Regions from separate parts of the Homo sapiens genome. Here region 2 is linked to region 1. The links are contacts of gene promoters, found by promoter capture Hi-C in human tissues and cell types (Jung and others, 2019). All regions are on one chromosome and are shown on one strand. Each heading gives the region's core, a stretch centred on a gene start or on the middle of the fragment in contact. The rest is flanking DNA. Distances are from core to core; before and after follow the strand shown. Region 1 holds the start of PSG1 (pregnancy specific beta-1-glycoprotein 1). Region 2 holds the start of PSG8-AS1 (PSG8 antisense RNA 1).

The links. Contacts are between HindIII fragments. The study calls those that stand out against the background at their distance.
Region 2: a contact is called between a fragment that was not itself captured here and the fragment with the promoter of PSG1 in region 1, in 2 of the 25 tissues and cell types used here (small bowel and stomach).

What each region holds. Positions count from the first base shown.
Region 1 is chr19:42,878,463-42,885,794 of GRCh38, reverse strand. It overlaps PSG1 (pregnancy specific beta-1-glycoprotein 1), which reads left to right and starts at 6,082. Exons shown (of 6, transcript NM_001184825.2): 1 at 6,082-6,277. The coding sequence starts at 6,214. The HindIII fragment of the contact is 8,814 bases long and covers 864-7,332 here.
Region 2 is chr19:42,820,297-42,827,628 of GRCh38, reverse strand. PSG8-AS1 (PSG8 antisense RNA 1) reads right to left here and starts at 5,766. Exons shown (of 4, transcript NR_036584.1): 1 at 5,716-5,766; 2 at 3,854-4,816; 3 at 2,285-2,697; 4 at 751-1,196. The HindIII fragment of the contact is 3,734 bases long and covers 907-4,640 here.

The DNA.
Region 1 (7,332 bases), core at 4,833-7,332:
TGCAGGGAGTCATGCAAAAGTATTTGTCTCTTTTGAAGTTTGGTGTGACATGAGGGATTCAAAGAGAGTTAACAGAGGAGGGGAAGCTTTTAAACTCCAGATGATGAAAGAGCTCAGAAAGGACTCAACTTTTGTCCAAAGGGGATGAGATGGACAGAGTTTAAATTTCTCTTTCAAAAAATGATGCCTTCGAGGGAACAATAAGAGGAAAGCAGGCTAAGAGGTCAGCCAGGTGGATGAAAACCATGTTGTTTTCACTTAAATATGTGTAGTCCTGCAAGTGTAACACAGCCAGATAATTCCAGAGCTCCTGGGTCACCGTTCCCTCTATCTTCTCAGACCCCACTCAGCAGAAGAGATGTTTGTTTATGGCTCCACCCAGGAAGCAACTGCAAGCTCCTATGACTTCAGCATCTGAAAAGTACTTCAGATCCAAACTCTCGCTTCCTGAACCTGAACGGAGCTCATCCCCACTCCCCTGTCACTCTGCATAAGATTCCAGGGTGACATTGTCAGATGTGGTCATTAATCTCCTTTTAAAAGTGCAAATCCCCTCAGAACGTGACTCTGCTCATCACCTGTTTAATCAGATCGCTTCCTTCTCATTTGTAGCTCAGAAGTGGTTGGAAGAGGGAAGCAGGGAAGAGTGAGAAGTGACCAGAAGACAAGAGTGCGAGCCTTCTGTTATGCCCACAGAAGGCCACTAGAGGGCTCCTTGGTCTAGCGATAATGCCAGCATCTGGAAAGATGCCCATTGCCAAGCGGACCATGGTCTAGTGGTAGCCTCAGTGTCAAGGAAAAACACTCGCTACTTAGCAGACCGGGAAAGGGAGTCTCCCTTTCCCCAGGGGAGTTTAGAGAAGACTCTACTCCTCCACCTCTTGTGGAGGGCCTGACATTAGTCAGGTCCACCCGCAGTTATCCAGAGGCCTGACCATCTCCCTGTGAGGCTGTGCTTCAGTGGTCACGCTCCTAGTCCGCCTTCATGTTCCATGCTGTACACCTGGCTCTGCTGTTTAGTTAGCAATAGCAAATTAGTGAAAGTACTAAAAGTCTCTAATAAGCAGAAATAATGCTGTAAGCTCTCTCTCTCTTTCTCCTCCCTCTCTCTGCCTCAGCTGCCAGGCAGGGAAGGGCCCCCTGTGCAGTGGACACGTGACCCACGTGACCTTACCTATCACTGGAGATGGCTCACACTAATTATCCTGCCCTTTTGTCTTGTATCCAATAAATATCAGCACAGCCTGGCATTAAGGGCCACTATCTGTCTCCATGACTTGGTGGTAGTGGTCCCCCGGGCCCAGCTGTCTTTTCTTTTATCTCTCTGTCTTGCGTCTTTATTTCTACAATCTCACGTCTCTGCACACGGGGAGAAAAACCCACCGACCCTGCGGGCTGCTCCCTATGCCCACTTTACAGAGACATAAAGAAGTTGAGATGTATACAACTCCCCCAACAACACTGTATCACAAAACAACATCATCTCTGCCCCTCATCGTGGAATTCACTGTCTCTCACCACGTGGGCAAGTGCTTCCAGGGTCCAAAATTCTTCCACAAGAGGCAATGCACACTTTAACATAGCACTTCAGCAAATAAAGTGGTGACAGTTTACCTACTTAGATAAAGTTTCTTAAAAGCTTCTCCCAAATTTCCCCCTGAAGAAGACAGAAACGGCTTTCCCAATTGTGAAACTTTGTCCTCCCCATCTTTCAAAAAAGTACCCCTGAATAGTGAAAACAATCCTGCCAAAAGAAATTGTAAGACTTGAACTTTCTTATTTGCAATCTCACAAAGGAGTACAATTATTAAAACAAGCTGCTGGCAAAAGACTGGACATAATGAAAAATGGGATAGAATTGAGAGTCTAGAAATAAACCCTCACATTTATGGTCAATTACTCTTTGAAGAGGGTGTCAAGAAAATTTAATGGAGGAACAATTCTCCTTTCTAATGATAATGCAGAAACAACTAGATAACCACATGCAAAACAGTGAATTTAGATAACTCTACCTCCCACCATATCAAACAATTCTCTGAAAAATTCATCAGTGAGTTAAATATCAGACCTATAAAACATCTTAAAATAGACATAGAGGTAAATATTGATGAACTCAAATGTGCAATGGATTCTTAGATATGATACAAAAGCATGAGAAACAAGAAAAACAAGATAAATTGGGCTTTATCAAGATGTGAGCCTTTTGTACATCAAAGAAAATTATCAAGACAATAATTAATAGACACAGAATGAGAGAAAATATTTGACAACCACATATAGGCAGTTTTCATGTCCAGATAATATAAAGAACTAGCTACAACTCAGTAACAAAAGGAGAAACCATTAAATTTATAAATGGGCAAAAGACTCAAATATACATTTCTTCAAAGAAGATATACAAATAGTCAAGAAGGACATGAAAAGATACTAAACATCATTAGTCATTAGGAAAATACAAAGTCAAAGCTGCAATGAGACACCACATCAAACCTACAAAACTGGCTACCGTTCTTTTAAAATGTTAAATAACAAGTAGCAGCATTATGTAGAATTTGGAATCCTCATACATGGCTGGTGAGAATATAAAAAAGTACAGCAGCTAGGAGAAAGAGTATTGCTGTTCCTCAAAAAGCTAATTATAGAATTCTCATTTGAAATAACATCCATTCCTAGGTATATACCCAAAGAATTAAATCCACGGACTCAAAAAGGTACTTGCATGGGAATGTTCATTGCAGCATTATTCAGAAAAGATAAAATATGAAAACAATCCAAGTGTTCATCAACACATGAATAAACAAATATGGTGACACATAAAACAGAATGATAATCTGCCATAAAGAGGAAGGAAGCTCTGACACCCGCTGGAACATGCATGGACTTGGAAAACATTATGCTAAGTGAAATGTGTCAGAAACAAAATAACATAATTGTATAATTCCATTTATATGAAACATCAAGAATAGGCAAATTCATAGAGACAGAGTAGAGGTGATCAAGGCCTAGGGTGGAACATACAGGGAGTTATTGTTTAAAAGATACAAAGTTTCAGTTTAAAATGATAACAATTTTCTAGGAAAAATACTGGTGATGGTAATTTAACACGGTGTATGCGGTTAATTTCATTGATTGTGCATTTTAAAGTGGTTAAAATAGCACATTATTCACAGAACTGTGAAAAATAGATTTCTATTATTTAATTCACCCAGGCTAAGGTGTTTGTTATAGGAGCTGAAGCCTATGAATACATCATCTGACCCAGTGTTTTCAATGAAATGCATCAGTTTTTCAATCAAGTTAGCTGGAAGCTCCTGTCCCCAAGAGAACCAGAGGCCCCAAAACAAGAGCTCCAGCAGGGGCTCAGCCAGCACAGGTCCCATAAGGCAGCCTCAATGTCAGGCCCTGGATGGCATGTGAGGCCACAGCAATACAACCACAACGTGAAAGTGTAAGTATTTTTACTACTTACAGACACTGGGAAGCACTTGGCACACCTGGAGACCACAGACACAGAGGTCAGTGAGCCCAGGGAGGGAGGAGAGAAGAGACCGGTAAGCCAATGGCTTTATTAAGTCCAGGGTGTTATCTGACAGGTTTCCAGCAGGGAGCTTTAATGGATGTGTTCAAAGCAAGCAGCAAACACTGGGAACAGGAGCTCACGCTGTGACTGAGAGGTGGTCACTTTTAATGTGAGGGCGAATGTCAGAATTATCAGTTTAAAGAAAGCAGCTGGAGAGACGGGAGCCCAGCACACCAAGCAGGAGAGATGTCTCTAAGATTTGATCTCTGGACACCAACTGGAGCCACTTGAACCAGACACAGTATTGAAAACTGCCATGGTGACCAAGCCCTGCCTCTGATTTGAGGCAAATAAACTTACACCTTAAAAAATGAATGCCAAGGCAACATGACACTATGAGCATCATGACATCCAGGGACACCAGCAGGGTGTGGTACTCTGCCCTGGAGTCAGAATCCTGGGTTCTGGTCCCTGGGAGTGAGAAAATGAAAATGACTTGTCCCTGCCCCCCTGACATTGATCTTCCCACCCTGCTGCTCCCAAGCCCAACTGCAGTGCTCAGCCCCAGACATCACTGCCCCCAGGGTATACACAGTGCCGCCTACTGCACACAAACACAAACTCACAGAAGGTGACAAAAATCTGCATTTGGGACATCTGATTGTGAAAGAGGGAGAACAGTGAACATAGAGCCACAGAGACTGGGACTCACGGGGCTGGAAGGTGATGGGGCTGTAACATAACACAGGTGTGACCTCGTGTGAACTGTGCAGATCCACGTGGAATAAAACATGCATCCTGGCCTGGAATTGCTGCCGTTCACACTTCCCTCCCTGTCCACCAGAGGGGGACAGAGTCCCTCCCAGCCTGGAGTCTTCCCAGGGGATGCCAACCTCACTCAGCGGAACCCACAGCCCAGCAGTGTCCACCCTCTACAGGGTCACTTCTGCCCAAGTCCTCAGCGCCCTCCATGCTCCCCACACGGACACTGTCAGCTCCTCCCTGACCTGGCGGCCGCCAACCTAACACCACTCCCCCTGCAGGTAGCTCCTCCCCACACACCTGCTCCTTCCCTGGGCCCAGCTAAAGGCATCTCCCAGGGCAGCGCTGGTGCACGCGATGCCACACCGGGTGCTTTCCCCTCGTGACCTCCCTCCATCCTCATCAACTCTTTCTGGCACTGCTCCCTAAATGCCCACCCCTGCTCCATCTGTCCTGTTCTCTGGGGCATCCCAGGCCAAGCCTAGCGCTGACACAGAACAGCGGCTGCCTGAGGGCCCACAGCCTCCCCGGGAATCAGCCAGGCACCCTGTGACCTGCCTGCCCGCTGCACCCTGGGGGCTCAGAGCGCGTGTGATGGTCACACACAGGCACCATCCGGGATGTGGCCACCTAACACCAGCTGTCCCTTGGGAAGACAGACCTCTCCTGTGTGCTTGCGGGAAGAAGGGGAATGTTATTGCTCTTTGATCTCAGAACACAACTCACCCCCACCCGCCCTCTCAGGTGAGAGCAATGTCCCTCCAGACAGGCTCTCTGGCCACTGCCTGTTCCTCCTCTACACACAGCAGCTTGGCCAGGTCAAAACCATCAGGACAGACCCCTGGGTATGTCAGCATATGGAGGGCTGAGCCCATCATGGCCACGGAGTAAGTTGGGATGAATCTCTCCAGCTCTGAACCCCTGCTCTGTCCCAGGCTCCCCCTCCCGCATCTCAATGAGCCATGTCCCGCAGGGTTCCTGGGTAACTCCCCACTTCCTCCTGCACCACCACAGGGAAGGTGTGGTGACCACAGGACAGTCAGCTGGGCAGAGAAGAGAGGACATCAAAGATGGTCAGGAAGAACATGAGAAACTATGAGCTCCAGCTCAGCCGCCAGACCCCAGGGAGCCATAGACTGACAGAGAACTGTCCCTTTGACTATGGGACTCACAGCCCCCACTGAGCAACCAGCACAGGCCTCTCCTCCCAAGAGGCATGAGAGATTCACCCTGCACACCGCCAGAAAGGACAGTTTCCTCTGGGACACCCAGGTCCTGAATGTCCATCCTTGGAAGCTGCAGCCAAGCTAGACATGATTAGAGAAAGGAAGGGTCCCTCTCACCAGGCAACACACAGCTCACCCACAGCACAATGGGGCATCATTCTGACAGGGACCTGGTACAGCTCCAGCCTCCTGCACTGAAGGGGAGAGCCTGATGGGGATGAAAGAGGCCAAAGGGCGTTAATTTGCACCCCGACCCAGAGCCATGGGGACACCAGGAGGCTGAGGCCCAGGACTGTTCTTGCCCAACCTGCAGGGTATGTGTCTGACTGTGTGGGTCTGTGTGTATCTCTTCTGTGTGTGTGTGTGTGTGTGTGTGTGTGTGTGTCTGTGTGTCTGCACAAAGTGTGTCTTGAGGTTTGGTGAAAGAATCACTGCTGAAAAAGGCAGAGGCCGCCACAATTCCCAGGGACCTGAAACACAGACAAAAGGAGAAACAGAAGGAGGGACAAGGAGGCAGGACTTAGAGAGGAGGGGACAGAGAGGTGTCCTGGGCCTGACCCTGCCCATGAGCTTGAGAATTGCTCCTGCCCTGGGAAGAGGCTCAGCACAGAAAGAGGAAGGACAGCACAGCTGACAGCCGTGCTCAGAGAGTTTCTGGATCCTAGGCTTATCTCCACAGAGGAGAACACACAAGCAGCAGAGACCATGGGAACCCTCTCAGCCCCTCCCTGCACACAGCGCATCAAATGGAAGGGGCTCCTGCTCACAGGTGAGGAGAGAACTTCCTGGGAGAGGACAGGAGGAGGAAGCAGAGTGACTGGATGGGGTCTCCTGGAGAGGATGGGGTTCTAAAAAATGAAAGAAGCCAGCACTTTGGGAGTCTGAGGTGGGTGGATCATGAGATCAGAAGTTCAAGATCAGTCTGGCCAACACAGTGAAGCCCTGTCTGTACTGAAAATACAAAAATTTAACCAGGTATGGTGGTGTGCTCCTATAATCCTAGCTACTCGGGAGGCTGAGGCAGGAGAATCACGTGAACCCGGGAGGCAGAAGTTGCAGATAGCTGAGATAGCACCACCGCATGCCAGCCTGGGCGACAGTACAAGACTCCATCTCAAAAAAAAAAAAAGAAAAAAGAAAAAAAGGAAAGAAGGCTCTGTTGGAGCCTGGATAGGGGAAAATACACCAGAGAGGGACAGGGGTCAAAACAGGAAAGTCGTATTGGACCGGAATTGGTAAGAGGTAGGAAAATCTTAAGTGTTCTGTTTTCCTGATTAATCATCAGGGGCCACCATATTTTGAAAAATGATAATAATAACTATAGCAGATGACACCTCAAATAAAAATATAAACAGGGCAGGAAACACTGTCCTCAGCAAGAAACCTCAACAATTGGGGGAAAAAAAACACCCAGGGCATGGAGGGCCCTGAGAACTCTCACATCTACAGGAGTCTGCAGCCTGTTCCAGGCACTGGGGTGCAACCAAGATCACAAAAGTCCCTGTCTTCACGGAGCTCACGCTGTCATGGGGGGGAAGACAGACATGCAAAGAGATCTAGAATGTGAGGTCAGGTGTTGACAAGAACCCTGGAGGGAGCAGAGCAGGGAAAGGTCAGAAAGGGAAGACCCAGGGTCTCTGAAGCAGGCATCAGGAAAGAAGTCTAACGATGCCCTGATGTAAGCAGGACCTGAGGGCATTGTGGAGGGGGCCATGCGGACCCCTGGGGAAGAGGATTCCAAACAGAAAAATGCCAACGTCAGAAGTGTTGAAGGAATGGGCGTCATGCTGCTGACCTTGACCTAGTAGGACAGTAGGACACACA
Region 2 (7,332 bases), core at 1,524-4,023, 55 kb after region 1:
CGAAGGTTGCAATGAGCCCAGATCGCACCACTGCACTCCAGCCTGGGTGACGGAACAAGACTCCATCTCAGAAAAAAAAAAAAAAAATTATCAGCCAAGAATTTTGTATCCAGCAAAACTAAAGTTCATAAATAAAGGAAAGATAACAGTCTTTTTCAGACAAACAAATGCTCAGAGAATTTGCCACTACCAAGCCAGCACTACAATAACTGCTAAAAGGAGCTCCAAATCTTGAAGCAAGTCCTGGATACACATCAAAACAGAACCTCTTTGAGCATGAATCTCACAGGACGTATAAAACACAAATACAATAAATAAATGAATAAAACCAAGGTATTCAGGCAACAAATAGCAGGATGAATGGAACAGTACCTCACATCTCAATACTAACATTGAATGTAAGTGGCCTAAATGCTCCACTTAAAAGACACAGAATTGCAGAATTGATAATAGTTCACCAAGCAAGTATCTGCTGCCCTCAAGAGACTCCCCTAACCATAAAGTGTCACATGAACTTAAGGTAAAAGGGTAGAAAAAGACACCCCATGCAAATGGCCACAAAAGTGAGCAGGAGTAACTATTCTTATATCAAAAAAACTAACTTTAAAGCAACAGCAGTTAAAAAAGACAAAGAGGGACATTACATAATAATGGAACAGGGAGTGGCATTTGATGCTTGGTGTCATCCTAACCCCCACAGTCCCTGTAGTAGTTTGCTAGGGCTGCCATGACAAAATACTGCAGAGGAGTAGATAAGCAACAGGAGTTTATTGTATCACAGTTCTAGAAGCTAGAAGTCCATGAACTTTCCTCCTCTGTAAGAGGTTACAGTGCTTCCCATGAGCTCATATATATGGCAGAGGGAGATACAGAAGGAGCAGGTGCCACGGGAGTCTGATTCACCCATTGGGTCACTGGTGCCCTGGGACCTGCTTGAGCCTGACCCCATACACAGCTCTCCCTGGGATGCTGGAGGCTGCTGTGCACGCCCCAGGTAACTCAGATGTCACCAGGACACGATGTGCCACTCAGGTCCTAAAGCCCTTGGTGTCCTATGGTCAGGTATTCCAATTCCACTAAGCCCAGGGATAAGCCAAGAGCTGCTTCCTGAATGAAGAGTTACCTGCAGGAGGAGGCGTGGTCTTTCTCTAGAACGTCCAGTTCTGCACGGTGAATCTTTTGGAGCTTGTGAAAGCCTGCATAAAATAATACACTGCATTTGGAACATAGATGCTCTTACATTCATTAATTTCTTTTTTTTTTTTTTTTTGGTTGAGATGGAGTTTCACTCTGTCATCCAGGATGGAGTGCAGTGGTGCCATCTTGGCTCACTGCAACCTCCACCTCCTGGGTTCAAGCGATTCTCCTGCCTCAGCCTCCCAAGTAGCTGGGATTACAGGTGCCTGCCACGATGCCTGGGTAATTTTTGTATTTTTAGTAGAGACGGGGTTTCACCATATTGGCCAGGCTGGTCTCAAACTCCTAACCTCAAGCGATCTGCCCGTCTAGGCCTCCCAAAGTGCTGGAATTAGAGGTGTGAGCCACTGCTCCCAGCCTCATTAATTTATGAGTAGGCTCTTCCAGGAGTTATTGAGAAGAATATTTTACAATTCTAAGTGGAATATTTTAGCAGGAAGGACCGTGGTTTATTTCTACGATAATTCTGTTGTGGCTTAAACAGTTTGTTCTTTTATAATTTGGGGTATTCCCTCTACCACCTATTGTTTACTTTTGACCTTTGATATTTACCCTATGCAAATTCATCAACCCCTGATTTTACTTCTTCAAAGCCAGCATGAGGCTAGTCAAGCCTGGTTTCCTCTCACAGGAAGTAAGGCTTTTGCCCCATGGTATTTGTGTAGCCAGGTTACAGGAATTAAAAATCTATTGCAAGTGACAGTAATTAAAAAAAAAATCAAGTGCGGGCTACTCTGGAAGAAGAAACATTGGAATGTAGATTTTATTTGTTTATTTGCAGAGAGATGAACCAGCTTATACTCATTTGATTTCCACATTATTCATGGAGAGTCTAAAATCAATTTCTGGGAACAAAAAACCAACTTGAAAAGCTGTTTAAATTCTGTTAGTGGGACTTCCAAAGGTACAAGGGTTAAGAAAAAGAGAGGAGAAAAGAGAAAAGACGGGCAGGGAGAAATGAAAAAGTGACACCAATGTGAGCCAGACAATGGAGATGGAGAAAAAGCAGTCGAGAGGGACAGAGGGCACGGTGGAGGTCTGCAGGATCTGAAGATCCGCCTGTCTTCTCCGGACGCTCACCTCTTACCTGATCCCAGAAACAGACTGAGCTTTAACTCTGACCACACACTCCTCAGGGTGACGGAGAGTGGGGCCACCTGCACCCTGCCAGCCTTCCACAGCCCCTCTGCAAGGGCTCTGCTCCACACTCTACACGTGCTCTGAGGCCCCTTATTGCAACATATGACTTCCTCGGGCTTCCATTCCCTCCACCGCCTCTTTCTTCTCGCTCAAGCATCTTCAATGGTCTGGATACGTTTCTTTGCTTCCATTTGTCACCTTCCACTCACTCGTCCTTGTCCACTTCCATCTTCCCCTTTCTCTAACATTGCTTGTACTGAGATCAGCAACATCCTCCTTTATTGCTAAACCTGCCAGGAACTCAGAGGTTAGTTTTGCATCCTTTGACACTGAGGGCCACTTCTTTTCCTGGAATAATCTCTGTGAGGCAAATATACATTTTTAAAAACTTTGTTTAGCCTGTTGCAAAAAGATAAAGAGACTCTCCTCTTTTCACTCAGAGCATTTTCTATTCATTCATTTATTCATTCATTCATTCATTGACAGAGTCTCACTCTGTCACCCAGGCTGGAGTGCAGTGCTGCCATCTAAGCTTACTGCAGCCTTAACATCCTGGGCTCAGGTGATCCTCCCTCCTTAGCCTCCTGAGTAGCTGGGACTACACGCACACCCCACCATGTCCAGCAAATTTATTATTATTGTTGTGTGTGTGGAGATAGGATCTTGCTGTGTTGCCTAGGCTGGACTTTGAGATCATTTTTTTTAGAAGAGGTGTAATTGAAAACTCTTTCTCTATCCCTTGAAGATGTATGCAAAGCTTTCTAAAGCATACATAAGTATCTTGCCTGCCTCACAACCCAGAATTCTCCTCCTCAAGGCCATAGGAGACCTCTCTTTGAAAGGCAGGCATCCGGGCAGAAAGCACCCCTGTCTCCCAGTTTCTGTGAGAAGGAAGGAACCTCAGTTCTGGGGGCATCTCACTCCCAGTTGCAAAACTACCTCCTGTCATAGATGAGAGGTTTCTTTTTCCTGTGGATAAAGCCAATTAACCACACAGAGAATCAACACAGTTACTGGGTGAATTTAGGATGAACTACGTGTGACAAATGGTGCCGTTGAGTCCTCTCAACTGGGAACTAGTCACCATCTATCTGGAGACCATGTGTGTAACGGGTTGCACCTGCTTGGCTGGATACAAAGGTGGGATTTCTTTCTGTCTTTGTCATCTCTTAGCAGATTGCATCACATTTTGGCTTAATGCTTACTCAATCATAAGACAAGTTTCTTTTACTTCTATGGATGTGAGGGGGGTTTCTGGGCTGAGCAGAAATTTGTTTCTTAATTATATTTTTCCAGCAACCCCCACCCAACCTACCCCACCTTCTCTGAAGCTACTTCCCCCAGGCTTTAAAGGAGGCTGCTCCCCGGGGTTCCTCCCGGGCCCTGCCTCTCCTGGTTCATCTGATCTCCCACCCTCGAGGCATCGTAGATTCCCTCCCTTCCATGTGCTGATGCCTCTCGGATCTCTAACTCTAGGCAGAAACCGGCTTCTCAGTTCCTCAGCTCAAATACCCACCTTGGGACGGGCTTCTGCACCGGGACATCCCGCCAGGAACTCTCCCGGTGGAACACAGTCCATGTTCTCTGGCTGCCCTGCAGTTTTTAAATGCCACCAGTACACATGGGGAATGTTCTGCCTTCGCAAGGAGGAAGCTGGAAAGTTCATTTTCCCAGCACTCCTTGCAGGAGGGACACCGACACGGGTCCAGGCTTTCCCCATCAGGTGCTCCCGTGAAAGACTCAGGGTCCCGAACAGCACCAGGAAGCAGAGGGTGCATGACACCGATTTGTTATTGTTTTTGTTTTAATTTTTTGAGCAGGGATGGGGGACCGAAGCTTCTGGTGTAGAAGCTTCTGGACTCCAGCGCCAGCCTCAGCAGTGCAGGGTGCAGGGTGTGGTTTCTGCCTCCTGCAGTAGCCAGAAGATCTTGACCGGAGCTGTCCTGTGCCTGTGGTTTGTCCTTGCCCTGGGCCCTGTGGCCTCCAAGCCGGATTCATGAGGGCCCTTGGAGCTTGGTGACCTTCCTACCCTCTCCTTTAACCGGTCCTTTTCTGATTCTTGCTGGAGTGAGCTGGGCGGTTTTCTCTGAATCTGCTCCTGGGGTTCTCCCTTAGGGAAGGGCACCCTAGGCACCCAACCCCTCAGCCGGATGCCCAGCAGATGTTATCATGCTTCCACTTTCCTTGCCCCTTTATGTCCTGTGGTCACTCCTTTCTGTCCCTTCCATGTCCTACATCTCTCTCTGCTGTGTCCTGTCTTCTGCACCCTGTGGCCTCCACCCAAGTTTGCATCACCACCCATTCCTCCTTGAATGAATACAGTTGTCTCCCCGGGTCTCCCTGTCTCCATAGGGGCCAGCAGCATCCGAGCCAGCTTCTTCTCTGTGGCAGAGATGATCTTTTTCAGGCCTCCTCCGGCCATGGCCCTTTCCTGCTCCTCTTTCCAGAGCTCCCAAGTCCCCGGGATGCACTCCAGCTGCTAAGAGAGGCCTCGAAGGTTAGGCGATGTGGCCTCCACAGTCCTCCTGAGCAGCCACCCCACCTACCCTCATCCTTCAGCCCCATTACATTTCCTTTTTCTGTTTGATTTTTTGAATAGGTGTTGTATTTAGATGGCTCAGTAATTTCCATCTGTGTGTATCTGTATATGTGTGCAGGCATGAAGAGCCTGTGTCTCATCCCTGTTCCCTATGCACCCAGGTCCTAGCCCCACGCCAGCCCCAGTGGCCAGCTGTGCTGTTCATGACCTGCAAAGCTTTCTACAGCTGTTTTATGCAAAACAATAGGAATTATTGTAAATTATTGTGAAATATATATAACATAGAATTCACCATTTTAACCATTTTTTTCCTTTCTTTTTTTTCTGTCTTTTTTTTTTTTTTTTTTGAGAAGGGTTCCTCTTCTGTCACCCAGGCTGGAATGCAATGGCATGATCTCAGCTCACTGCAAACTTCACCTCCCGGGTTCAACCACTTCTCCTGCTTCAGCCTCCTGAGTAGCTGGGACTACAGGTGCATGCCACCATGCCCAGCTAATTTTTTGTATTTTTAGTAGAGCGGAGATTTCATCATGTTAGCCAGGATGGTCTCAATCTCCTGACCTCATGATCTGCCCACCTCGACCTCCCAAAGTGCTGGGATTAGACGCAAGCCACCTCGCTCGGCCCATTTTAACCACTTTTAAGTGTACATCCAGTGGCAGGAAGTACATTTAGGTTGTTGTTCAACCACCACCACTGTCCATCCCCACCCAGAACTTTTTCATATTCCCCAACTGGAATTCTGTACCCATTAAACACCAACTCCTCTTTCCCCCTCCCTCCAGCCGCTGACAACCACCTTTTCATTTTCTGCCTATGCATTTCATGACGTTACGCACCTCTGTTAAGTGGAATCATGTAGTAGTTGTCTTTTTGAGTCTGATTATTTCACTTAGCAGAAAGAACTCAAGGCTTAATCATGTTGAAGCACACATCAGAATCACCCTTCTTGTTACAGCTGAATCCCATTTGTTTGTACGCATAGACCACTTTTTGTTTATTCATTCATGGATGGATGGACACTGGGCTTGTTTCCAACTTTTAGCTATTGTGAATAATGCTGCTATGAACAAAGACATGCAAATATCTGCTGGGGCCCCTGCTTTCCGTTCTTTTTGGAATACACCAGAAGCCGAATTGCTGCATCTTGTGGTAAGTCTATGATTAATTTTTTGAGAAATGACCACAGTTGTTGTGCCATATTACAAACCCACAAACACTACACAAGCATTCCAATTCCTCCTCGCCAACACTTTTCTTTTCTGTTTTCCTTTTTTTTTTTTTATTGGGAACAACCATCGTAAAGGATGTAAGGTGGTATCCCACTGTAGTTGTGATTTTTATTTTCCTAATGATTAGTGATGTTGAGCATCTTTTCATGTGTTTATTGGCCATTTGTAAATTAATTTTACATTTCCTCCTTTGTAATGCAAGAGGTAGCACACCGTGCATTGTTCTGCTTCTTGTTTTTCTCACTGTGCAGTGTATCTTGGAAACCTTTCCCGGTGCACAGACAGAAGGATACCTCATTCATTGCCACAGCTGCACAGTATCCATGATGTGGATCATGGCTCATGACCCAGTTCCCTACGGATAAACGTCAAGGTCGTTCCTGGTCTGTGGCCATCACCAACACTGCCGCGACTAGTCTAGAATGGGTGCCATTTCATGCATTTGCAATTCCCAGAAGTACACTGGTTAGTCAGCAGGTGAGTGCATTGGTGAGAGGATGTGACTCCAATCTCAGGAAATATGGAAACCTTCTTCCCTTTCTAGCTGCAGCACCCCTAGTCTGGACAGCATATGGAAAGCACCCATGATCATTTGAAAATCACAAAATAACTCTAAATTTCTGCACAAGTAGGTCATCTACCACTTGTCATTCTAATCCCACACTAGGCACTTTAAGAACATGCACCCCTGGGCTTTTGCTACACTCTTTTCTTATGCTGGTACCCACCTTGTGGTGACTGAGGGTTCTCTTAATATCCCCAAGTCTGAGGAAACTGAGGCACAATTCGATTATCCACTTATGAAGTGGTGAATCTGTGGATTAAACTTATAAGACATATCCACTTCACACTCCAGAAAACTTCATCATTCCCAACATTATTGTCTTCCACCATTGGGAAAGAAATATTTTCCTTGGTAATTAGAGGAGAAAAGGTGTTTGGTGTTTCATTGTCACTTTCCTGGTGTGGAAAGTATCTACTTGCGGGTCTTTCCTAGGGCCAGCGAGTCCTAACATGTTTGAACATCTACCCATGCTATTTAAGGCAGCACACCAAACACATTCCTGCTTCGACTGCAGTATCTGTTTCATCAAGAAGAGTATTTTCCTTAAATAAGTTTGAGGTGCCTACTACTTGGGGAAATACTAAGCCTTTGGTATGCTTCTGCTCATCTAGGCATGAGACGGCTCCATCATTACTTTGGTCTTCAGTTTTCTGAATCTG